2 separate regions of the Homo sapiens genome follow, and region 1 is linked to region 2. Evidence: promoter capture Hi-C in 16 types of primary human blood cells and fetal thymus (Javierre and others, 2016). All regions are on one chromosome and are shown on one strand. Each heading gives the region's core, a stretch centred on a gene start or on the middle of the fragment in contact. The rest is flanking DNA. Distances are from core to core; before and after follow the strand shown.

The links. The method cuts DNA at HindIII sites, captures the fragments that hold promoters and counts their contacts. A CHiCAGO score of 5 or more calls a contact.
Region 1: a fragment that was not itself captured here is called in contact with the fragment with the promoter of ZDHHC12 in region 2 in 1 of 17 cell types (erythroblasts); the score reaches 5.4 in erythroblasts.

What each region holds. Positions count from the first base shown.
Region 1 is chr9:128,513,504-128,517,416 of GRCh38, forward strand. It overlaps GLE1 (GLE1 RNA export mediator), which reads left to right. Exons shown (of 16, transcript NM_001003722.2): 3 at 2,026-2,136. Among named protein-coding and RNA genes, the nearest start is that of GLE1, 11 kb to the left of the region's middle. The HindIII fragment of the contact is 750 bases long and covers 1,668-2,417 here.
Region 2 is chr9:128,722,810-128,726,562 of GRCh38, forward strand. It overlaps ZDHHC12 (zDHHC palmitoyltransferase 12), which reads right to left and starts at 1,318. Exons shown (of 5, transcript NM_032799.5): 1 at 1,185-1,318. The coding sequence starts at 1,284. It overlaps ZDHHC12-DT (ZDHHC12 divergent transcript), which reads left to right and starts at 1,653. Exons shown (of 2, transcript NR_046240.1): 1 at 1,653-1,826. RefSeq lists a silencer at 1,207-1,686. The HindIII fragment of the contact is 13,716 bases long and covers 1-3,131 here.

The sequences.
Region 1 (3,913 bases), core at 793-3,292, 210 kb before region 2:
CTCAGGCATTCGAGACTAGCCTGCGCAACATGGGGAAACTCCATATTTACAAAAAAATTACCTGAACATGATGGCTCATGCCTACGGTCCCAGCTACTCAGAAGGCTGAGGTAGGAGGATCCTTGATCCTGGAAGGTCATGGCTGCAGTGAGCCTAGATAGCACGACTGTATGCCAGCACGGGTGATAGAGTAAGACCCTGTCTCAAAAAAAAAAAAAAGAAAAGAAAAAAGGCGGGGTGCGGTGGCTCACGCCTGTAATCCCAGCACTTTGGAAGGCCAAGGCGGGTGGATCACGAGGTCAAGAGATCAAGACCATCCTGGCTAACATGGTGAAACACCATCTCTACTAAAAATACAAAAAAAATTATCCTGGCGTGGTGGAGGGTTCCTGTAGTCCCAGCTACTTGGGAGGCTGAGGCAGGAGAATGGCATGAACCCGGGAGGCAGAGCTTGCAGTGAGCCGAGATTGCGCTACTGCACTCCAGCCTGGGCAACAGAGTGAGACTCCATCTCAAAAAAAAAAAAAAAGAAAAAGAAAAAGAAAAAAAATAGGCCAGGCATAGTGGCTCATGCCTGTAATTGTAGCACTTTGGGAGCCTGAGGTAGGAGGCTTGCCTGAGACTAGGAGTTTGGGACCAGCCTGGGCAACATGACAAAACCCTGTCTCTACAAAAAAATACAAAAATTAGCCAGGTGTGGTGGCGTGCGCCAGTGGTCCCAGCTACTTGTGAGACTGAGGCAGGAGGATCAATTGAAGCTGGAAGGTCCAGGCTGTAATGATCCGTGATCACGCCACTATACTCCAGCCTGGGAAACAGAGTGAGATCTTGTTTCAAAAAAAAAAAAAAAAAAAAACTTAGAAAAGTTCAAAGATGAACTCTGGCCTTCAGGTCATATTTTTCATTCCTCAAGTCCATACTGGGTGTAGGAGGATAGCAGACTTTTTTTTTTTTTTTTTTTGAGACGGAGTCTCTGTATCCCAGGCTAGAGTGCAGTCGTACGATCTCTGCGCACTGCAAGCTCCACCTCCCAGGTTCACGCCATTCTCCCGCCTCAGCCTCCCGAGTAGCTGGGACTACAGGCGCCCGCCACCATGCCTAGGCACGTGCCACCATGCCCGGCTAACTTGTGTATGTTTGGTAGAGACAGAGTATGTCTTGTGTATGTTTAGTAGAGACAGGGTTTAGTAGAGACAGGGTATGTCTTGTGTATGTTTAGTAGAGACAGGGTTTCACCATGTTGGTCAGGATAGTCTCAAACTCCTGACCTTGTAATCCGCCCACCACAGCCTCCCAAAGTGCTGGGGAAAAAGGTGCCTGGCCTTTTTTTTGAGATGGAGTCTTGCTCTGTCGCCCAGGCTGGAGTGCAGTGGCGCGATCTCAGCTCACTACAGCCTCCGCCTCCTGGGTTCAAGGGATTCTCCTGCCTTAGCCTGCCTCCTCAGTAGCTGGGATTATAGGTGCGTGCCACCACGCCTGGCTAATTTTTGTGTTTTTAGTAGGGACGGGGTTTCACCATGTTGGTCAGGATGGTCTCGAACTCCTGACTTTGTGATCCGCCCACCTCTGCCTCCCAAAGTACTGGGATTACAGGCGTGAGCCACCACACCCGGCCTGAGGATAGAGTACTTTGATAGCCAGCTTTCTCCTGAAGCCAGGAGGATGGAAGCTTAGGGATGTAGGTTGGGGATACTCCATCCAAAGCATCCCAGGATAAATGGACACTGATCTGAAGAAAGGGGAAACATTTTCTAGGCAGAGTAAAACAAACAAGTCAAAAAAAACATAGAAAAACCCAAAAAATCACCCAAAGTAACAAACATCAATTTATTAAAGAAAACAATTAGAACAAAGTCAATGTCATTCATGAAAAGCACACTAGTTCTGACCTAAATTTTTTTTTTGCTCTTGTTATTGGTGGTTGTTCATAAGTTGGGATGTGGTCTTTGTCTAGAAGAGATAACACCAACTTTACCATATTAAAAACTTATTTTTTAATTATTTTTCCATTTTCTGCTCATATAGGGCAAAGATGAGTCCCAGCACACAGAATCTATGGTACTTCAGTCCTCACGGGGGATCAAAGTGGAAGGCTGCGTCCGAATGTACGAACTGGTACACAGAATGAAAGGAACAGTAAGTGAACCCATGAAGGAAGGCAGCCTTGATCCTGCGAGCCACATTTAACTGCAGTTCCCCAGGGCGTAGGAATGGGCACTGTATGCTACTCATCCTTCCCACCTACTGTTTAGTTTTGGGGGTAGTGTAATAGAGGTCAGGAGTGAGTGCTCTGAAGTCAAGTCTGGTTTCAGATCCTGGCTGTTACATTTTACATGTGACTTTGGGAAAATTACTTAGCCTTTTCTGGCTTCCATTTACTTCTCCAAAATTTGGAAATGGTCTGGGATTGTTAGATAAGCTTATTCTGAGAAAATGGGACCTTAGCCTCTTTTTTTTTTTTTTTGAGGTGGAGTTTTTGCTCTTGTTGCCCAGGCTGGACTGGACTACAGTGGTGTAATCTTGGCTCACTGCAACCTCCACCTCCCAGGTTCAAGTGATTCTCCTGCCTCAGCCTCCCAAGTAACTAGGATTACAGGCTCGCGCCACCACACCCAGCTACTTTATTTTCTATTTACTAGAGACGGGGTTTCACTATGTTGGTCAGGCTGGTCTCGAACTCCTGACCTCAGGTGATTCACCTGCCTCAGCCTCCCAAGGTGCTGGGATTACAGGCATGAGCCACGATGCCCAGTCAGGACCTTAGCCTCTTGAAAAAATAGCAGCACTATTTTAATTAATTTATTTGATTGTATTTTGTTTTTGTTTTTGTTTTTGAGATGGAGTCTTGCTCTGTTGCCCAGGCTGTAGTACAGTGGCACCATCTCGGCTCACCGCAAGCTCCGCCTCCCAGGTTCATGCTATTCTCTTGCCTCAGCCTCCCAAGTAGCTGGGACTACAGGTGCCTGTCACCACGCCCAGCTAATTTTTTGTATTTTTAGTGGAGACAGGGTTTTGCCGTGTTAGCCAGGACGGTCTTGATCTTCTGACCTCGTGATCTGCCCGCCTCGGCCTCCCAGAGTGCTGGGATTACAGGCATGAGCCACCGTGCCCGGCCTGTTTTTTGTTTTTGTTTTTTTGAGACAGAGTCTTGCTGTTGTCAGCCCGGGCTGGAGTGCAGTGGTGCAATCTTGGCTCACTGCAACCTCCGCCTCCTGGGTTCCAGCAATTCTCCTGCCTGAGCCTCCCAAGTAGCTGAGATTACAGGCGCCTGCCACCACGCCTGGCTAATTTTTGTATTTTTTAGTAGAGACGGGGTTTCACCGTGTTGGCCAGGCTGGTCTCAAACTCCTGACCTCAGGTGATCCACCCACCTCAGCCTCCCAAAGTGCTGGGATTACAGGCATAAGCCACTGCGCCCAGCATGTATTTTTTTTTAATTAGGAAAGCAATGCATGATCTTGTAAAAATGTTTCAGAGTACAGGAATTTAGAAAATGAAAGTCTTGGCCAGGCACGGAGGCTCATGCCCGTAATCCCAGCACTTTGGGAGGGTGAGGCAGGTGGATCACCTGAGATAAGGAGTTCCAGACTGGCCTGGCCAACATGGCGAAACCCCATCTCTACTAAAAATACAAAAATTAGCCGGGCATGGTGGCACATGCCTATAATACTAGTTACTGGGGAGGCTGAGGCAGGAGAATCACTTGAACCCGGGAGGCAGAGGTGGCAGTGAGCCAAGATTGTGCCACTGCACTCTAGCCTGGGCAGCAGGGCAATACTTTATCTCAAAAAAAAAAAAGAAAAAGAAAATGAAAGTCTTCTAACATCTTGCCTCATTGGTCATTGAGTCAATAAATATTTGCTGAGCACCTATGTGCTAGATGCTGTTCCAGGTCTAGATAAAACAGTAAACA
Region 2 (3,753 bases), core at 68-2,567:
AATGGATCAGGGGAAGCCTGGGGGCAGAGAATCTGGCCAGGAGGAAGAAGAGAGTCGCTACAAAGGCCTGGCAGGAAGTGAGGGAGGAAGGAATGGACAGGGGGCTGCTGGGTCAAGGGAGCCAGACCTGACTGGATGTGGGAGAGAGGGAAGAGGGGTCCAGCGTCTCTGGCTCTGCAATGGTGAGAGACTGGTTAGGTCTGAAATGCCTGAGAGAGATACAGTGGGAAGGGTGCAGCTGGCAGGCTCAGATGCTGCAGAGGGGCATACGGAAGGGTCCAGCAGGCTTCAGCCCAGGGAGGTGACAGGATTTTGGGGAGGTAGGGTGCAGGGCAAGGAGTGAGGGGGCATGAGACCACCAGACAGCAGAGTGTAGACAAATCCTGTGTCCCTTGGTTGTAAGGGGGAGCAGAGAAGAAAGGGTGGGTTTTGAGGGGGGTTTTCTGATACGGAGACCTGAGCAAGTTTTTAGGCTAAAGGGTGAAGGTGGTGGAGGAGGTCTGTCTTGGGAGGAAAGCCAGAAGGGGCCCCAGTCCAGAAACTGAGGCTGGACCGCCATGGAAGGAGGGCTGGGGTCTGCTGTGGGGGACAGTGGGGGAGGCTGCCTGTGGCAGGTGAGGCGCTGGGTAGGGGGCTACTAAGAGGAATGAGGGAAATGGAGGTGGGTGGGTGGGTGAATCTGTGGGAAGATGGGAGACAGGCCGCACCCCATGGAGTGTTCTCTGGCCTGAGGGTTTGCCTGGACTTGGGCAGCTAGTGGCCATGGGGGTGTGGGGGGTGTGGGTGTGGGCAGAATGCCAATCTTTGCATCTAGTTGAGCCTCCTAATCGTATGGATAGGAAGATTTGGGGTCAGTTCCTGGGAAGGATCATGTGGGTCCCAGGATCAGGGGACATGGGGCTCAAGTCGGTCCTTGGATCTGGTGGGCACCGGCTGGGTCCTGGGATGGACAGGGCATTTGGCAATGATCAGGAAGATGCTGGGATTAATTAGGGATCAACGGGGTATCAGACAGAGAGCAGGTGGCTCTTGGAATGATAGATGGGGAGAGGGCTTCAGGAGCTGGTGGAGATCGGGCCAATCCCAGGATCTCCAGGGATTAGGCGGGAGACCCAGTGTGACCAGAACGTCTGGGGAAGTACGCGGGATCGGGTGGGTCCGGGGTCGCTCGGGGTCCGGCTCACCGGTATCGTGCAGGAAGAGCACCAGCGTGATTCCCCAGGTCAGCACGGTGTGCCCGGTCCGCACCAGGACCCCAGGGCTGAGGAGCGCCCAGGGCGCCATCGCCTCGGCCCGGGGCCCCACCCGGAAGAAGCGCCCAGAGGGGCGGGCCCTCCGAGGGAGGGGAACGCCGCCGCCCGGGGACTGGTGGATCTAGGCGTTGGGCGGGGCCGGACTGGGTCAGGGAGGCTGCCTATTGGATGGCATCTGCGGCCGAATGGACCCTCAAGCCAACAGGTGCCTGAAGAGGCTGAGGGTGGGGCCGGCGCGCGCGCAGCTGGTAACTCCCTCAACTCCAGCCCCACCCGCCAGGTAACTTTTGAAAGCGCCGGAGCGCGCGCGCACCTCCCCCGCGCTCCGCTGTGCCCTCCCCCGCGTTCCCCTGTGCCCGCCCTCGCAGCCTCGCGCATGCGCGTAGCTCCCTGGGCGCTTCGAAGATCCAGCGGCTTGCTGTGAGTCCGGGAGGCAAAATTGTACCCATTTCAAAGATGTGATGACTAAAGTCTCGAGAGGGCCAAGGCTCGCCCAAGGTTGCTCTGTGGTGACAGCTTTACCTCCTTGCTATGTATTCTCAGATATTGCAAACGGACGAGAGAAAAGTGGAGGTACGTGGTGCACATTCTGACTATGGGTGATCCAACTTAGGCGGGAGTCAGAAATCCCAGCACTGCCCCTTCCTACCTGTGTGACCCTGGGCGAGTTACTGAGCCCCTCTGAGCTGTTTTCTGTCTCTATAAGGGGGATTACAATAGTGTCTTCCTCCTAAGGTGTTTGGGAGGATTAAATAATGGAAGCGCCTTGTCTAGCACGGGACTGTCTTGCCTCTCCTGCTGTGAGCCACCACCTACAGGCGGACTTTCCTCACCGGAGGCTGCAGGCTGTCCTCCTTCCCTGTGTCCCCAGGGCCTTCTCCACTCAGCCCCGCCTTTCCACAGCACCTCCCACTGATACCAGCATCCTCCTCCGCCTCCCTCTGATTGGCCCCATCCCAGCTCCTCCAGGATACTCCTCTGACATCTGTTGTTTTTCTCAGCTCAACATCCTTTTTTTGGTTGGGGAATCGACTTCCCATCCCATGTGATTGGAGGGACTGCCCCTCACCCCATAGGATGGCGAGCGGCAGGCTGTGGGCTTTCGACTCTGCAGAACCAATCACAGGCCTTCCATGAGATTACTGTCTAGATGCTGAGAGGAAGGAGCATTCTTTTGGATCTCAAGCCTAAGGAATGGGATATAAGGCAACTGGGAGCCGTCTTTACGCTGGGCGGAGAGGGCTTACCCTGTCTGTGGCTGGAGAAAATGAGACCAACTTATAAAGACACATAGAGATGGATAAGCAGCACTAAAGGAGGGAGCAAGAGATGGTCTGAACAACATTGTCTGAGCCCTCTAGATCCGGCTGTCCCTGAAGCTGATACTGACTCTGCATCCCCTGGTTGCAAGAGTCAATGAATGCCCACCTTTTTTTTTTTTTTTTTTTTGAGACAGAGCCTCACTCTGTTGCCTAGGCTGGAGTGCAGTGGCGCGATCTGGGCTCACTGCAACCTCCACCTCCCAAGTTCAAGTGATTCTCCTGCCTCAGCCTCCCAAGTAGCTGGGGTTACAGGCACATGCCACCACGCCCAGCTAATTTTTGTATTTTTAGTAGAGACAGGGTTTCACTATGTTGTCCAGGCTGGTCTCGAATTCCTGACTTCAAGTGATCTGCCTAACTCAGCCTCTCAAAGTGCTGGGATTACAGGTGTGAGCCACCATGCCTGGCCCCAATTCCCACCTTTGACTAGCCTGAGTAGATGTTTGAGTTGGGTGTCTGTCATTTGCAGCTAAGTCTTGACTACTGCACTGGGTGCAGGATCTGATGTGCTCAGTGGGGACATCCAGCACATTATCCACTCAGCACATAATTCTGAAGCTTCCGTGGGTTAGGCACTGTGCTAGTATCAAACATCCCAACACTAGTTCAAATAGTAAGGCCAGATTTTAATTAACAATATACTACTGATAGGGCGGAGAGCCCAGTGTGAACCAACTGAAACTTCTGTTTGTGCAGAGGTGACTGATGTTTTTTGTGGTTTTGGTTTTCTGCTTTCTTGAGATGGGGTCTCGCTATGGCCTCAAACTCCTGACCTGAGGCAATCTTCCCCCTCAGCCTCCAGAGTAGCTGGGACTGCAGGCGTGCTCCACCATGTCTGGCTTAAAGGGAGAATGAGGGAGTGGAGGGAAACGGTGAGGGCTTCAGCAGAATAAGGGAAATGAAAAATTCCAAAGGGTTGGTCATGGTAAATGTGATTAGGCAGCTCCGCGTGCTCGCTGGCAATGGTGAAAGTTAGGACTCTGTTCTCCTGCAGAGACTGGGAGACAGAGGCTCTGTCCTTCCTGATATTACATTTCAATAGAATGGCCTTCAGGTCCTTGAAAAAGACACTTCTGAGTTGTAGGAGATACACACTCATCTCAAATGGACAGAGGAAGGATCACAATTGTAAGTTCCCATCCCACCACACTTTTTTTTTTTTTTTTGAGACGGAGTTT